4 separate regions of the Homo sapiens genome follow, and regions 2, 3 and 4 are each linked to region 1. Evidence: promoter capture Hi-C in 16 types of primary human blood cells and fetal thymus (Javierre and others, 2016). All regions are on one chromosome and are shown on one strand. The core of a region is centred on a gene start or on the middle of the fragment in contact, and the rest is flanking DNA. Distances in the headings are between cores, read along the strand shown.

Region 1 (2,804 bases), core at 174-2,673:
TAGGGTTCTTTTTGTGATTCTTTATTATAATCCCCTGAGGAAGTCAGACGAGCCTGGGGTTACTGGAGACAGTGTCTTGCTTGGCGTAGTTATCATCCACAAATCATCTGCTATAAATATATCTCAGAAGGATCATCATCAGGCCAGCTCAGTAGCCTGCAATTTATGAAGGTTATGAGAAACAATGTGAAGGGTGAAGCGCTTTATTAAGGGTGGCTTTCTTTTCTGACCCTGCCCTGACTTCTACTTGAATATAAATGATCCTGGGAGTAAGTGAACCTTTCCATTTAGGATTTAGGCTTTTAAATTGTCCCTTTCAGCTGTTATTCTTATGCCACTGTGTCATGACTTTAAGAATTTCTAAGAAACATCAAAATCAGTGTTACAAGATAATATGAGAAATCACTAGATGCAAAATAGAGGTATAACTGAACCTCACATTACATTCTTTCCTTTTTATGTATAAACCATCCAAAGCATTTTTTCCTCCGTTTTTATTCCACATCTGTCATGCTTTTTTTTCCTCTGGATAAAGTAACAGAACTGACCAAATTGCCTTGCGAAAATCATAATTACGATCTCTAGGGAAGTTGAAATAAATAAAATGTTTTTCTCCTTTGTGTTGCTCAATGTTCTTTGTTTTTAAAAGAAAATGTGTTGCTTAAACGGTGTTTCAAAATTTGTTCTGGACATAAACCCTAATTATTTCCTTTTAACATTTCCTTAAATGAATAAAAAATATTGTAAAGAACCAAAATGACACAAAACCAAAATGCCACCCAGGCTGCTCTCTTGCCGGTGATTTGTTACTGGGAAAATAGTTAAAGCCTGCTGGGGAATTATTAACTGTTTCCCCTTACAGTGTTTATCCCAGGCATTCGTTTAAGACGGGAAAGCCTTGAAGAGGGTCACTCTATTAATATGCATTAAGAAGTAAAGGACCAATTTTAATATTTCAAACAACTCCAGTGGATAACAGACCATAAACTTCCTGTTTTCACTATCAATCTCTTTTAAAATGGTGTTCTTGGCTATCCATAATCGCCCCAGGGGAGAGAAACAAGCGGAGGAAAAAAATGCAAGAGTGAGGGGAACAAATGATGGAAAATTGCTTTATTCAACTTCACCTGCCGCTCGAGAAACTCACCCTTACGAAGATTCCAGCACTTTATATGAATTACCCATTATGGTTTCCTCCCACCACATCACTGCACTATTTTAGCACTTGTTTTGCAAACCACCAACTGCGTTTACAAGTAGAAACATAATCAGGAGGCGAATGACCTTTTGTAGCATGTATCTGAAGCTGGTTTATCAGACACTTCGTCAGCCAACTGTCCAGGAGGCAAAATGACTATCTATGATGATAGATAGACAGACAGATAGATAGTTAGATTAAAAGGTGGGGAAACATCCCTTTTCCCTTTTTCCTTTCTATATAATCTGGTTTTTTCTCTTCACCCCTTTTCTCGCTTCTTCCCACCCCGTCCCCAAACCTGTTACTAGGGAAACTTGAAAAAGAATCAGATACATTAAGACTACAAAACGAAACAAAAGTTTAGACCCCGAAACCATGATTCCATTGCCAAGCACAAAGCAATGCAAGAGCCCAACGTCGGTCGCCGCACCGCGATCCTGACAAAGCCTGTATGGAGCCAGAACAAATAAGATGTTAATTGCAGCCTCGCAGAGAAAAAAATACTATTGTTCCAGCCAGAGACACTCAGCAGCTCGGTAGCTGGGATGTGCCCCCTCCGCTGCGGACTGGATCAATTCTGAATCCCGGTACTGAAATGACAGCTCTCTGGCTGCGACAGGTCTGCGCTGAAAGAAAGAGAAAGACGATCAAGTCCAGCATTCACTTCCCACCCTTCAGAGTCGCCTTCCCATCCTCCGCACCCCCCTGCCTCGCCTCCCAGTGAGTTTCTCTTACAGTTGGTCGCCGCCAGCCCCAGCGGTGGGAACTGAGGATGCAAAAACCTCCCAGACGCAGAAAATACCGCTTTCGGGACGTGCTTGGGTTTGAGTAGCCGTGACGTGCAGGCGAACCGCGGCCCTGGCTGGAGCTCCGTGGAGCCCCCCTCCCGCCAGCCTCTCCCCCGCCCTCCCGCCGGGACTCCCTCCTCTCCCACCCCGCGGCTCCCTTCGCCTTCTCTCTCACACACCCGCCCGCGCCCCCGGCAGGCAGAACTCCAGGAAGTCGCAGCGGCCGCGCCGCGCGAGCCGAGCCTCTGGCGGGCGGCGGGGCGCACCGCAGCTGTGCATAAGAAGGGCGCGCGGCACCCGGGACGCGCGCGCACACGAGCACGCGGGAGGCCGCCGCGCGGACGCGCTCCCGGGACACGCGCACCCCCCGCGCGCGCGCCCAAGGGAGAGCGAGCACTGCGCGCCGGCGCGCACACCCGAGACAGAGCTTTACTATCTCGCTCCCTCTCGCGCCTCCCTCCTCGCTGGGCATTCAAACAGCTTTCCGACATCACCAGCCAAGGATTTTTTTCCCCGCTCTCCTTAGTCGCCGTCCGTCCATCAGTACCTGCAGGGGGGAGGAGGAGGAGGGAGGAAAGCGGAAAGAGGAAAAAGCATAAGCTTGAGCCTTCCGATCCGACCACGAATACTCCTGTAATAAACCCACCGCCCCAACAAATCTGCCATAGCAGCCGCCGCCGCCGCCGGTCACTTCTCGTCTCAGCGCTTTCTTTGCTTCTTGGTTTGTTGGGGGTAGCTTTTATGAAACAAATCTTTGCTATTAAGCCACTTACATTTTGGGGGGTTCCTTAGAGTCTCCCTTGGGGGGGCTTCTCCCT
Region 2 (2,804 bases), core at 147-2,646, 1.5 Mb after region 1:
GGATATTTCATTTTCCCTGAGTGAGACAACTTTCCCACAACTGTTATCCACTGCAATTTCATGCTCCTTGGAGTTTCTGTGCACCAAAATCATCCCCAAGCAATATACTCTCTTGATTAGCTAGTATTTTATTCCACCTCCTTTGACTATATTTATTTTTTCTTTTCTTCCACCATCTTATAAGCGCGAAGGCTCCTTGCCCTTCATTTGGCATTATTGAAACCTCAAAAGTTATTTAAGATGCTGGTTGAGATTGTTAACTTCCTTCCTTTTCCATCTCAGCCTAACTCTGATCTTTCTTTCTCCTGCTCTCTTTCTAGTAGAAGCCCTCCATGATTTTGAACTTCCTTGTGTCTCTGTGTTGTTCCTCTCTCTTATCCTTACCCCTCTCCCATTCTGGTCACTTTCCTCTTGACTCTTCTTGTCATCCAAGTCTTTCTTTTTTTTTTTTTTTTTTTTTTTTTGGAGATGGAGTCTTGCTCTGTCACTCAGGCTGGAGTGTAGTGGCGTGATCTCAGCTAACTGCAACCTCTGCCTTCTGGGTTCAAGCAATTCTCCTGCCTCAGCTTCCCAAGTAGCTGGGACTACAGGTGCACGCTAACATGCCCTGCTAATTTTTTGTATTTTAGTAGAGACAGAGTTTCACCATGTTGCCCAAGCTGGTCTCGAACTCCTGAGCTCAAGCAATCTGCCCGTCTTGGCCTCCCAAAGTGCTAGCATTGTGGGTGTTAGCCACTGTGCCCAGCCCTTTCAAAAGGCATGTCTACACCAAGTCTCAGACCATTCTTTTCTTGGCCCTTAGTGATTGTATACCTCATTAATCCTGTGATCTTTCACCACACGATGCCCTGCTCGATTGTTTAAAAACCAGCTTTAAGATGATTGGTATTTTATTTTCCCATCATCCTTCTCACTGTGAGGTGGTTTAGGGGAAAGAGTTAAAAGATCAAGGCAGTGGGGTCAGACAGACCTGAGTTGAAACCTAGCTCTTGTCTACTATTTATATGACCTTGAGTCAGATATTTAGTCTTTTGTTATGTGTAAAATAAGGAAACACCACCTCACTGGGCTGCTGTAAGAGCTAAATGCAATAATGCATGTACCTCACACAGTTGTCACTTTCAAAGGGTAACTATTGTTATTTATTAATATTTTTGTTATCATTATCCTCATTTAATCATTATTTGCCATCTTCTCATTATTTTTGTCTTTCTTTCCCAGGATTTAGGAACTGACATTTCCAAAGCAAAAGGGTTGATATTTTTTCTCTTTTATTATCACCTGCATGTAAATTTTTCTTCTATCTGCTTGGCTCCCCTCCTTCCTATTTTCCTCTGTTAAAGTCTTTATAGAGAAACTTCATCCATCTAAGAATGTTGGCCTAAATATATGCATATACATATTCATCATCTGGAAAAACTCATTAGATTCTATTTTCAATGTGAACAAACACACTTGAAAACATCTCTTTTAAATTGAGAGCATTTAAGTTTCATAACTGTATTCTTTTGTATTGACCAATGAATGAAACAGGTCCATCAGATTAGCACTGAAACATGAATTTTCCCTGAGCTTATTTCCATTTGAGTCCCCACCACTTACAATCCAAGTTAACCTGAAGACTTGGCTCACAAGTCATTTCTCAAAGCCTCTTTCCAGAAAGTGAAAGCCCTCAGCCTAACGGTGGTGGAGGCAGAGATGCAGTCTGCAGAGTCCTCAGCCTCCCTTTCCTACTTGGTACTGTCTTCTCCTGTCCTTAGCCCCCAAGGGCCATCCCTTTATTCTTCTCCTTTCCTGTCCTACCCGCCTTGCTCTTGGGAAATATGTAATGAACAATTCACATGAATCTATTAGAATGGAATGATTTTGGACTTGGTTCTACCATTCATGTGGTTTGGGGAAAAATCTCTTGGTTTTCCCATCTGTTAAATGGAAAATATAATACTACCCACTTCAGTTGGTTATTATAAGAATCAAATAAGATAATGCATTTTACAGTCACATTACCCTACCACCCAAGAAAATATAAGTGAAAATACTTTTAGAATTATCCAGAGCTGTGAAAACATGAACCTTTAGTATTATATCTCCCAGGAACATTTGCATTTGATCTGGCAGTAAAACCTAACATCAAAAAAAATAAGACTTTTGTTAGGACATTTTGGGCATAACCTGGAGAGCAGGCAAGATATTTGAAGGAAAAAGACCTCCTCCCAGGAACCTTTAAATTTCACCTATATGTGGCCCATGTTCTCTAGGGTGACCCATTTAATCCCAAGTATGAGAGCTTGAGGTCTCTATATTGAAATGTAAGAATAATATAAATACTCACTGAATCTGCTCTTGGCTTTAGGAATCACATTTTATAGTTCAAGAGTTTCTAGCAGTTGTTGTTTTTTTTGTTTTGTTTTTTGGTGTTTTGTTTTTTTTTTTTTTTTTGGTGGGGAGAAGGTGTTGGTATCCCTTTAGTCACTAAAAATTCTCAACAGAAGCATTCTCAGAAAAAAAATCCATTACAATTATAACTGCTTAATTTATGTAATTAAACCCCAAGAGACACTGAAAAAAATTTCATTTTGAGTAAATATTAAGACAGAGAAAAGGATGTGTGTCTTTTTTAAAAAAAGAAATTGAGTCCCCCAATATTTTCTATCTAAAGAACATTATTGATTTTTTCCCCCAGAATTACTTTACAACTTATATGTTGTAATTCTGGTCCAAAAATCCATCCATGAGCTCTTTTCTACTTAACTGGAGCTCACTATAACTATGCTTTCAATTAACTAGCCACATTCTTAGGTTAA
Region 3 (2,804 bases), core at 211-2,710, 1.2 Mb after region 1:
ATCCGCCCACCTCGGCCTCCCAAAGTGCTGGGATTACAGGCATGAGCCACCATGCCCAACCATAATTTTCTTAATAATATTTTCTTTTCTCTAGTTTTCATTATTGGAAGAATGCAATATATAATAAATACAACATGCAAAATATATGTTAATCAACTATTTATGTTATTGGTAAGGATTCCAGTCAATAGAAGGCTATTACTAGTTAAGTTTTTGGAGAGTCAAAAGTTATAGGCAGATTTTCAAGTGCATGGGGATTCAGCATCCCTAACCCCTAACTTATTCAGGGGTCAACTGTACTTAGTCAACTGATTGTAGATATTTATCATGTCTACAAAATACCTTCACGGCAACACATAGCATTTGAATAGTTGATTATTATAGCCAAGCCGAGTTAACATTAGAGATGCTTTTCAGAATTGTAAATTGAGAGATGTGGAGAATGATGATGCCACTAATGAAGACAGGGAACATACGAAGAAGAGAAGATTAAGGGTGAGGAATGACAGAAATAAACTGTATTTCATAGATTCTAAGATGCACTTTTCTCCTTTACATTTTAACATCTCTGATGTTAGGACTCACCTTTAAATTGATGGGATCTTACCACTATAACTGGTATATTTTGTTCTTCATCATTTATAAAATGATGGTGCATCTTACAGTCAATGTCACCTTAGAGTGAAGGAAACAAGGTAGTAGATTTTATTTGGTACCTTGGATTTGAGGTGCCTGAGGAACACGGATAGCTCTAGTTCATAGAATGTATAGGCGGGAAACTCAGCCAAGGGACCTGCCACAGAGGTATGAGTCATCTATACTCAAGTAAAAGCTGAAGCAATGAAAATGCAAAAAATTCCCAGGAAAAATTGGTAGAAGTGAGAATAATAGTCAGCTAAATAGACAACCCTAAAAAAACAGCAAACTTTAAGGAGAGAATAAAAGGAAAAGAGTGGTTAGAACTAATAATCAGAATACATCATATAAACAAAGAGAGAAGATACTTTTTAAAACTAATGAGTAGCTGTCAATACCAAATATAGTGAGAGGACTAGCAAGTGCCCACCGAGTATGGCAACATGAGTGGGGGGGTCATTAACGAATTTTCTAGAATAATTCCACTGGAGTGGATAGGAAGCAGACAAGTTGCACTGGCTTAGAGGAATGAAGGAGAATTAGGAAAACGGAGGTCATGAATGTAAAATATTCTTTCAGGAAGCTTGACTAAAAAGGGGTGGAATAATGAAAAAGTTAAATAGAGAGGATAAGGTCAATGGTGATTTCTGCAGAAGTGACTCAGATTTGAACTCATTTCTAAGAAACGTAGAAAAGGCGTGGGCCACTCTTATGTTACTAAACCAAACAGGGGTCCCATTGCCCAGTGCAGTAAGGCCAAATATTCATACCGAGGTTGCTTTGCAGCAGGAGAAAGGAGGGCCTTTATTAGTAGGGTACCAAGCAAGGATAATTGGGCAGCTGAAATGTAAGACCCAAACTTCCAGATGGCTTGCAAGCAAGGGTGTTTAAAGGCAGAGGTAAATTTCAGGAAAGCAGAAGTTATAGGCAAAACTATAAATCAACACATAGAGGTGATACATTGGTTTGGCCTACAAAGGTGGAAGCAGAGTCAGGTGGGGCAGGGTGCTTCCAGGTCATAACTGGATTTCAAAGATTTTCTGACTTGCAATTGGTTAAAGAAGAGAAGCTTTGTTTAAAAATTTGGGATCAGAAGAAAGAAATATTAAGTCTGGCCTGTGGGCGTGACTTCCTCCATGCCCCTCAGGAAGAAATTTAAAGCAAGAGTTCAGTCCTCAATTACCTCTTATTTGAGGTCTACATGCCAGGGAATCCATTTGGTGGGGGTACCAGCTTCTAAGAAACAACTCAGGGACATATATTCTGATGTTCTCTTTAGTTTCTACAGGGTGAAACCGCCTTTGCAAAATTATAACTGAGGAAATTATGACAGTGACAGAAATCACACCTAACTGATTCCATCTGGCTCCTAATCTTTAAGCTGTCCTTCTTCATTCCTGAGGATAGGCCAAACTAATTTTGAGAAGGAATTCAGTTCATGGCTTGATTCTGAAACAAAATTGATAATAGACCTTTCCTGAAAAGACCCCTTCCTTGCCTGGGTACCAGTCTGCCTTTGCAGGACTAACAAATTAGCTACAAGATTAGAAATTACAGTTTAGGGGCATGCAGCCTCTGGCTCCAAGTTGCTGGGGATAACATCACTATTGCAAACCTAAGATCAGTGCTTGAGATATTTTGCAGAATCTGCACTGGATGGATCAGCAGACACCACCCAGACCAGTAATCTGGCTCAACCAGTTCTACCATCTCACCCAGATGAACAGAAAACAGCAAGAAAAAGTCAACTTCGACCCCCTATGGTTCCATCTCCAACCTGACCAATCAGCACTCCCCACTTCTCAAGCCCCTACCTGCCAAATTATCTTTAAAAACTCTGATCCTCAAATGCTCAAGGATATTTGATTTGAGTAATAATAAAACTCCAGTCTCCTGCACAGATGGCTCTGTGTGACTTAGTCGTTCTGCCTTGCAGTTCCCCTCTCTTCATAAATCGTCTCTGTCTAAGCAGTGGGCAAGGTGAATCCGTTGAGCAGTTACAAGGAAACCAAACATCTCAGAACTCTAATTCCCTTGGCTATAGTTTTAAGCTACTCTTGCCTTCTTGCTTATCAAGTTGCTCATTTACTTCTTAGGGCTAACCAGGTGTCTGGAAGTTCCCTTAAAGGAATTCAATATTTTTCTTTATTTCCATGTTTGGCAAGGGG
Region 4 (2,804 bases), core at 127-2,626, 1.1 Mb after region 1:
CCACACCGCCGACACTCGGGATCACAATTCAACATGAGATTTGGGTAGAGACAGACAGCCAAACCACATCATTCATATTATTTTCATAATCCAAAAGAATGTTGCTTTTTACAACAAAATGCCATGGCAATATTTTGCTAAGCCCAGCTTATATGCAGGTATGTTTCCCTGTCCCCTCAACCACCTCCAATCTAGGCCTATTTGTCCTCAATGCTTGTTATTCTGTGTTGGATGGATTAGGTTCCCTGAATGCACTAACTGCAGTACTCGATACTGTTTCCCAAGGAACCTTTTGCTCTAGTCAGTATTAACAACATGGCCCTTATTTACAGTCTACTGTCAAACACAAGGCCTTCTGAATTATCCTAAACTGGTCTGCTGGTCTCAATTTCTACAAATCCATCTTCTACACTGTTTCTAAAGTGATCTCACTCTAATACCCAAGTCAATATATGTCATTCCTCTAATTAACATCCTTTAAGATTCTACAGGACTAATAAATGTATTTTTCAAAGCATTCTGGTATGAGTTCCTAGGAATCTGGAAAGGTGCCACTAGGGCCACTACAGAAGATAAGGCAGCTAGCCATGCAGGAATCTGCTGCTACTTTAACCAGAGCAATTCTACTTGTTCCCAACCTCTATATGTATATGAACATATAAAATTGTTTTAAAAAGTTGTTTTGCTATTTTTTTTTTATGAAAGGTACAATTATTGGTTGGTATTGGGAAAAGACTCTAATTAATGTAATTCTACATATAAAGCACTTCATGACCTGATCCCTACCAACTTGTTAACTTTATCTCATGCTTCTGAATTGTTCATAGTTCTTAAAACACTACAATTTTATGCTACTTTAGGCTTTGTCCAACATACACATTTTATTCCATGTAGTGCCCTCATCTAGAATGCCCACCTTCTCATCTTATTTCATTAACAACTGTTAATGCCCTTCAGGTCTCGGTTTAATTACAATACGTCTGAGAAACCTTCCCTGACTTGTAAATGTCCCTTGCTTATAACTCAATTATAACGCATAGGTATATTAACATTATTCATCTGCACATTTGTTTTATCACTAGATCTGCCAAACTTGGCTGAACAGATTTCTAGGCCAGACTAATAACAACTACAGTAGACTATCTGGTATGTAATGACTAAGTCCCAATTCTTTTTCCTCCTACCTTTGTTTCAAGAACAAACATTTATTATTAAATTAATAAAATAATTTCTCCAAGAAGATAATAATTGACCAATAAGCTTTTAGGAAGAGACAGCTCTTAATTCACACAAAGTTATTTCCTTAAATGGAATTGATATACTTATTAGAAGAGCTGAACTGAATTTCTAAATAGCTTAATTTAAAATATTTTATAAAATAAAAAAGTTTCTGGTAACAACTTGCGGTAACATAAGACCAGAACAAAACACTATTTTTAAATTTTTAATTGTCCGAAGACAACGTAGAAGAAAGGTGCCATCGTTTGGTTACCAAGCTTTTAGCTTGTTTTTGGACTGCATTTTCAATAATTATCAGGAAATTTAACTACAATATTTAGATTATGATAAGCTTGACATAGACCTTATATAAAACATTATAACTTTTAAGGTCTTTAAACAACAATCTTTTGAACTTCACGAACTTCACTTCAGACTTTTTTTTTAATGTACAAAAAGGCTATCCTTTTCAGAAACACAAAACTTTTATTACTTACTACTGCCCTCTAGTGAATTTCCAGAAAAAAAAATCAGAAAACTAAAGAGATTGTATAGTTTAAAATGCTTCTATTAATAGGTTGGCCCTAATTGTCTCCAAATTTATTTTGACTTCCAAGAATAAATCACCAACTGTATTTGAAAACTAAAATGTTTTAAAATAATATATACAAACTACATTCCTAATAACTTCTTTTACCGCTCAGTTTAGAAGGGCACGTTTTCTTTACATATCTCTCTCCTTTATCTGGAATGCTGGTTTCCAACTCTGCAGGCCTTAGATTATTGTAAAGGGTCAACACTAAATACTACCTGTAGACTTAATAAATGTCTTCCACATATTTGTGAAATCTATTATTCAAAGATGTACATGTTATTATGATTAATGAAACAACACAGGTACTCAAGACTTTCCTTTTAAGTATTCACTGAGTCTAAGACGTATATATTTTCTTACATTTAATATCAGTGAAATTTGGATGCATCTAAAAATTGAAGGCATCATATAATTGAAGGCTAGGCAGAAGCCATGACATAGTTGTCGCTACATGCACATTCACAAATTTGGTCACAGCAAGTTACATTACAGTCACTTCAGTTGAATTACATGCATTCTTGGTACAATTATTGAGTTTAATTGCCACTTATGTCTTAAAAGATAATATGATTTGACATTAAAGCAAAAAGTTAATGTGTAAGTCAGGAGAAAGAGAATGAAGATGCATCGGTAGTAAAGAAAATATTCATTAGAATAATGGGCATAATTCTGTATTTTCTTAAAAAGCAACAGTCAAGTGCTTCATAAGCTTAAGAAAGGAAGATATCCAAAAGAGAAGCATTTTTCTGCTTAGGTATATGCAAAAGGATTCCCTTCTATATGGCAAGACAAGAAACAACAGCAAAACATCTTAAATTTACAGGATAGGTGTGTTGGCAGCTTCGAAGAAAATCCCAGAGATAAGAATAGAACACACAAGAAAAGCTGCACATCAATTCTCTTGATAGCATAAAAGACAATACACTTTTTTAGCTTCTGTGTATGAGCGAAAACATGTGAAACTTGTCTTTCTGAGTCCAGCTTATTTCAC

The links. Contacts are between HindIII fragments. The CHiCAGO score rates a contact against its expected background, and 5 or more counts as called.
Region 2: a fragment that was not itself captured here is called in contact with the fragment with the promoter of ADGRB3-DT in region 1 in 1 of 17 cell types (M2 macrophages); the score reaches 7.3 in M2 macrophages.
Region 3: a contact is called between a fragment that was not itself captured here and the fragment with the promoter of ADGRB3-DT in region 1, in 1 of 17 cell types (M0 macrophages). The highest score is 5.2, in M0 macrophages.
Region 4: a fragment that was not itself captured here is called in contact with the fragment with the promoter of ADGRB3-DT in region 1 in 1 of 17 cell types (endothelial precursors); the score reaches 5.4 in endothelial precursors.

The regions. Positions count from the first base shown.
Region 1 is chr6:68,632,901-68,635,704 of GRCh38, forward strand. It overlaps ADGRB3-DT (ADGRB3 divergent transcript), which reads right to left and starts at 1,424. Exons shown (of 2, transcript NR_125872.1): 1 at 1,285-1,424; 2 at 1-156. ADGRB3 (adhesion G protein-coupled receptor B3) reads left to right here and starts at 2,382. Exons shown (of 32, transcript NM_001704.3): 1 at 2,382-2,804. RefSeq lists a silencer at 2,121-2,330. The HindIII fragment of the contact is 3,749 bases long and covers 1-2,584 here.
Region 2 is chr6:70,113,404-70,116,207 of GRCh38, forward strand. All of the region lies in intron 16 of COL19A1 (collagen type XIX alpha 1 chain), which reads left to right. Among named protein-coding and RNA genes, the nearest start is that of COL9A1, 190 kb to the right of the region's middle. The HindIII fragment of the contact is 4,286 bases long and covers 1-2,804 here.
Region 3 is chr6:69,810,627-69,813,430 of GRCh38, forward strand. No RefSeq gene overlaps it. Among named protein-coding and RNA genes, the nearest start is that of LMBRD1, 15 kb to the left of the region's middle. The HindIII fragment of the contact is 486 bases long and covers 1,218-1,703 here.
Region 4 is chr6:69,728,305-69,731,108 of GRCh38, forward strand. The region is part of intron 7 of LMBRD1 (LMBR1 domain containing 1); the gene reads right to left. Among named protein-coding and RNA genes, the nearest start is that of LMBRD1, 67 kb to the right of the region's middle. The HindIII fragment of the contact is 236 bases long and covers 1,259-1,494 here.